Linked DNA regions of Homo sapiens: region 2 is linked to region 1. Evidence: promoter capture Hi-C in 16 types of primary human blood cells and fetal thymus (Javierre and others, 2016). All regions are on one chromosome and are shown on one strand. Each heading gives the region's core, a stretch centred on a gene start or on the middle of the fragment in contact. The rest is flanking DNA. Distances are from core to core; before and after follow the strand shown.

Region 1 (2,700 bases), core at 65-2,564:
TGGAGCAGGTTTATCTTAATGTTGATTAGCAAAGAGCTACAGTACCAAAAGGGATGAATATTTTTTTTTTTGGCAACACTTTGATAAATATTAATTAAAATGGTTCAGAGTTTATGTAATACAGGTTCAGTTTCCCACGATTGTTGTAACTGGGGTCCACTTTTGAAGACAGAATTGATACACTGGAGCTGTCTTACACTTTTGGCTAGATTAGTGATTTTTTTCTTTGCATTGATTTATTAGATCTCTAGACAATTAGGAGCAATTTGGGATGAAAGCAAGTATTATAAAAAATAGGGATAATGGGATAGGAAACCATTTCAGCTGTGGAAAGTAATAGGGATTACGAAGCTTACTTTACCTTTTTTAAAAAGAAGATTTCAAATACCTTAGAATAGACATGTTACTAAAAAGTAGATTCACAGTAATCCTGTGTCAGGTTTTGGGTTTTTATTACTCACTTGTCCCTTAAGGCTCCATGAGTTGTATTTAAATTGGGAGGGAAAGGGGATCCCCCAGATGTTGACTAGTTAACTTGCTACTGAGAGTGAACTGTTAAAAATCACTGATTGAAGCCTTTACAGTTAGCTAGTATATAAAACAGAGTTAGCTAGTATATAAAACAAAGTTAGCTAGTATATAAAACAAAGTTAGCTAGTATATAAAACAAAGTTAGCTAGTATATAAAACAGAGTTAGCTAGTATGTAAAACAAAGTTAGCTAGTATATAAAACAAAGTTAGCTAGTATATAAAACAGAGTTAGCTAGTATATAAAACAAAGTGCACTTTGATATCTAAGGTATAGGAAGCTGGGGAAGTGACCAAAAAAACCAGTTGGAAGGCGGGGTGCAATGGCTTGCTCCTGTAATCCCAGCACTTTGGGAGGCTGAGGTGGGTGGATCACTTGAAGTCAGAAGTTAAAGACCAACATGGTGAAAACCCCGTCTCTACCAAAACATAAAAAAATTAGCTGGGCGTGGTGGTGCACTCCTGTAGTCCCAGCTGCTTGGGAGGCTGAGGTGGGAGAATTGCTGGAACCCGGGAGGCAGAGGTTGCAGTGAGCCAAGGTTGTACCACTGCACTCCAACCTGGGTGACACAGTGAGACCCTGTCTCAAAAAAACAAAAACAAAAACAAAAAAAAACCAGTTGGAGGCTGTACAATTTCAACTTGCTTCTGTCAAAAAACAAGTTTGCCCTTCTATTTGATATCTGGGTGGTTTTTATGTTCTCTACCCATGGGTGAGCAGTAAGTACAGCTTTATAAAGTTATACTTCACTCACTTTTTTATATTACTATTTTTTAATTTTTATGTTTTGTAGAGAATAGGGTCTGGCTCTGTTGCCCAGGTTGGTCTCAAACTCCTGGCCTCAAGCAGCCCTCCCAGAGGCCTCCCAAAGTGTTGGGATTAAGGTGTGAGCCACTGCACCCCTCCACGCCCGATATTTCTATTTTTTTGACTGATTTGTGTGATCACTGTTTTGCATGGTGCAATAATTAGGGGTTCGTGAAAGAATTTTCCCAGGAGACAGAAGACTATGTATAGAACTAATCATAAATGTATTTGCACTGATGTTCAAATATCATTTAAGGGGCATGGAAATCCTGGAATTTGGTCATCTGCAAGGAAACAATTATAGAAAGCCATAATCTCTTAGGTTGAGGGGGCATAGTGCTGGTTGAGGTTAAAGCAGTTGATTTAATTTTCTTTAGCAGTCTGTTTTTATCCAACCTGCTTATTTCATTTCTCTCTCTCTCTCTTTTTTTTTTTTTTTTTGAGACGGAGTCTCGCTCTGTCACCCAGGCTGGAATGCAGTGGCACAATCTCTCTGCTCACTGCAGCCTCTGCTTCCCAGGTTCAAGCAGTTCTCCTGCCTCAGCCTCCTGAGTAGCTGGGACTACAGACACGCACCAGCACGCCTGGCTAATTTTTGTATTTTCAGTAGAGACAGGGTTTCACCATGTTGGCCAGGGTGGTCTCAAACTGACCTCAGATGGTCCACCTGCCTCGGCCTTCCACAGTGCTGGGATTACAGGCATGAGCCACCGTGCCCGGCCCATCCTGCTTATTTCTGTGAGTCACGGCTTGGAATGTGTTAAGAAAAAGGACTCTATGTTCTCTCTAAAGGGAGACTCGAGACTAATCCCCTGTTCACATCAGAAGTATAAAATGATCCCCTTGAGAAGGTGAAAGAAAAATATTGGGCCCTTGGCATTGCTTGATTCTCAGAATAATCAGCTTGAGTGTTGTAAGGTTTGGAATTGGGAAAAGCTTACTCTAGGTGAGAAAATATTAGAGGCACAGGAGACTCTGAGAATGCTCTGTCAATTGTCAGAGACTTATTTAGAACAATGGATGCATTCATATGGAGATGTGGGTGATGGTAGTTTTTAGCTTTTCAGCTTTTTCAGTCAGGTGTCAGAGACAATATTTTGTGTGTTTAAGCACAATCCCCTCCCCCAGGGTTTGACTCTTGGAAGCTGAATCTTTTGAGGAAGTTGTTTGCTATGAGTCTGAATCCTGAAAGTAGAGGACTTGATGGAGTCTGTAATCTGTTTACCACTCAGATGAGGATGTAGAATTTATTGTTGGTGAGTTACTGAACTCTTCCTAAAGAATGGTTGCTTAGGCAAATTTTCTCTCAATCAGTTTAACCCTTAGTAGTTTACAGTCTGTTCTCAGTGAAGGCCAGAGCTGT
Region 2 (2,700 bases), core at 197-2,696, 66 kb after region 1:
GGCTCAGCTGGCCTCATCTGGAACCCAGAGGGCCGGGGAAGAGCAGTGGCGGAGACAATGGGGCTGTGTCTGTAGGAGAGTAAATGTGTACACTGCCGAGGGGGAGGGGGCAGTCCTGCAGCTTGTGCCGGAGCATATGTGAGGGCAGGAGCCGGCCCAGGCTGTGGGGAACAGAAAACAAAGGGCCTGCTGAGATTTCCGCCAGTAGGAGCTACGGAGGACCGAGCGAGGGAGGGAGGCACGGCGGGAGGGAGCACCGGAGGCAGGCGTCTCAGAGGTACTATCCCTGCCAGGCCCTCGATCCCCTCGTCCCAGCAAACAGCCAGGCAGTGGCCGACTCGGCCTTCCCCTGCGCTCTGGGGGCATGACCTCCGAAGAGTCGGGGCTCCTTCACCCTGCTTCCCACACCCGGGCCTGAGGGGTTCCCTGCGTGAGCAGGAGATTCAAGACATACAGGGCGCCCAGAAACTTGATGGATGCCCAAGAGCCAAGGGCTAACCTGCGTCCTGAGAGGGCAGCGGGAGTTCAGTAACAACACGAGTGCGACCCCCTTCTTCATGACTTATGGACCACCCGCCTTACTCCAGCCCCCGGGAGAGAGGGGAGCCGCCTAGAGGGGTCCTTCTTCGGGGGAGGATTCAGTCCTTCCTCCATTGTGTGATCATAAGCAGTCCGGGTTTAAATCCTAGTTAAGCCTTTAAGTAACTATGTGACCCTGGGCAAGTCGCAGCCTTTCTTTGAATCTCGTTTCATGATCTGTGAAATGGGAGAACAATAGCTACCGTTCTCTGAACGTTCGAAGAATCAGAAGAGGTTAGATGGGGGAAAGCTCCGGAGGCTCAAACTGCCACGCGGGAGCGGGTTTTGTCCTCTTCCCCCAGGATTCAAAGTTCAAGGCTGAGGCCGCGCCGGCTCTCAGGTGACGGGGAAGGGCCTCTTCCCCTCCTGACCCCACGAGAAGGCGCCGAGGTCTTCCGCCCCGGGCCGGGCAGTTGGGACCCGCCCGGACCCCTCGGATTCCTGCGGGGGGGGCCTCCCTCGGGGCTTGACGTCATCCCTCCCCGTGACGTCACGGGGCGCCCCTGAGGTCACAGGGTCGCAGCGCAGACAAAGGCCCGCCTTGCCCCGGGCCCGAGACCCTCCCCAGGCGGCGCCCCCCGCCCCGCCCCGCCCCCGCTGTCCCCTGCTCCCCGGCCAGCACCTGAGGAACTCCTGCAGGCAGGTATCGCAGAAACGGTGGCCGCAGGTGGAAACCTGCACAGGCTCGCGCATGGGCTTCCCGCACAGTGGGCACAGCAGCCGTCGCTTGGGCTTCTCCAGGAACTTGTAGTCGAAGCCAGGCATGGCGGGCGAGCGGCCGGCACGGGCGAGCGGGGCCAGGCACGCGGCGGCCCCACAGCCCGCGCCTCGCTGGAGCGGCGCTCCCGGCTCCGGGCGGCGCCGACTGGCGGTCGCGGCCAGGGCTCGGCTGTGAAGCCCGCCCTCCGGAAGAGAGGGCGGACCGCGGCCGCGCGGTCCTAATGCGCGCCCTCGCGGCCCCGCCCACCCCCGAGTGCATGGTTTTTGGGTCTGGTGACCGCCAGTCTCGCCCACCCACGGGATCATGGGCTTTTCTTTCCCCTGGGGGACAGAGATCGTGGCTCCGCTTCTCCCCAGAGCCCGCGGGCCCCGGGGAAGTGCGGGTCGGAAAAGGGGACGGGCCGCGCCACAAAGGTTTTCTTCTCCAGAGGCAACAGCTCGGCCTCCGGGGCCGTGAGCAGCCCAGGAACCGTGGCCCCAGCTTCCAGGTGCTAGGCAGCCGAAGCCTGGCAACCAGCTCCGGGGAGCCCAGCTGGGGCGGGGAGGCTGGACTGGGCGCTGGGCCAGAGGAACCTCGGCCCCAGCCTCCGGCTGCGCCCACATTCCTCCCTTGGCCGCAGCCCTGCCACCGAGGTCGGGCCCAGCCCAGTCCTGGGGTGCCTGGTCGCCACCCCCACCCTTGAAGACACCACACTCCAGGCAGGCAGCTGATATTTTTATTGGCCTTCCTGTCCTCTGGGAAACCGGTCTGGTCCCACCAGCTACCCATTCTCTCAACTGTTTCTGGGGAAAGGCATGGGGGGGACGGGCAATCTCCAGCGCGGATCTTTTCTGCAGCACTTAGTGACTCCTGCCCTCCTGCTGGGGAAGAGAGGCAAGCCGACGTCTAGCAAATCCTGCCTCAGGATGAAAGTGTAGGGGAGGTGGCAGCACTCCCGGGGACCGCCCAGCCCCGGGCTATGCAGAAGCTAGGCAGGCCTAATGGCCAGTCCAGGCAGGCCCTGGCTTGCCCTGCTCCAAAGTATGGAGATAGAGTCCCGGTAAGCACCAAATACTTTTTTTTTTTTTTTTTTTTTTTTTTTTTTGAGAGGGAGACTTGCTCTGTCATCCAGGCTGGAGTGCAGTGGTGCGATCTCGGCTCACTGCAAACTTCACCTCCCGGGTTCAAGGGATTCTCTTGCCTTAGCCTCCAGAGTAGCTGGGATTACAGGCGCCCGTCACCATGCCTGGTTAATTTTTGTATTTTTAGTAGAGACGGGGTTTCACCATGTTGGCCAGGCTGGCCTCAGTCTACTGACCTCAAGTGATCCGCCCGCCTTGGCCTCCCAAAGTGCTGGAATTACAGGCGTGAGCCACCGCACCCAGCCTTATTTTCTTCTTTTTTTTTTTTTTTGGTGGAGA

The links. The method cuts DNA at HindIII sites, captures the fragments that hold promoters and counts their contacts. A CHiCAGO score of 5 or more calls a contact.
Region 2: a contact is called between the fragment with the promoter of TRAF4 here and a fragment that was not itself captured in region 1, in 1 of 17 cell types (fetal thymus). The highest score is 5.4, in fetal thymus.

What each region holds. Positions count from the first base shown.
Region 1 is chr17:28,808,431-28,811,130 of GRCh38, reverse strand. All of the region lies in intron 1 of FAM222B (family with sequence similarity 222 member B), which reads left to right. Among named protein-coding and RNA genes, the nearest start is that of FAM222B, 33 kb to the left of the region's middle. RefSeq lists an enhancer at 1,449-2,390. The HindIII fragment of the contact is 1,922 bases long and covers 354-2,275 here.
Region 2 is chr17:28,742,757-28,745,456 of GRCh38, reverse strand. It overlaps TRAF4 (TNF receptor associated factor 4), which reads right to left and starts at 1,446. Exons shown (of 7, transcript NM_004295.4): 1 at 1,202-1,446. The coding sequence starts at 1,344. It overlaps NEK8 (NIMA related kinase 8), which reads right to left. Exons shown (of 15, transcript NM_178170.3): 15 at 2,002-2,700. RefSeq lists silencers at 968-1,167, 1,188-1,597, 2,052-2,346 and enhancers at 2,052-2,346, 1,370-2,370. The HindIII fragment of the contact is 4,112 bases long and covers 1-2,700 here.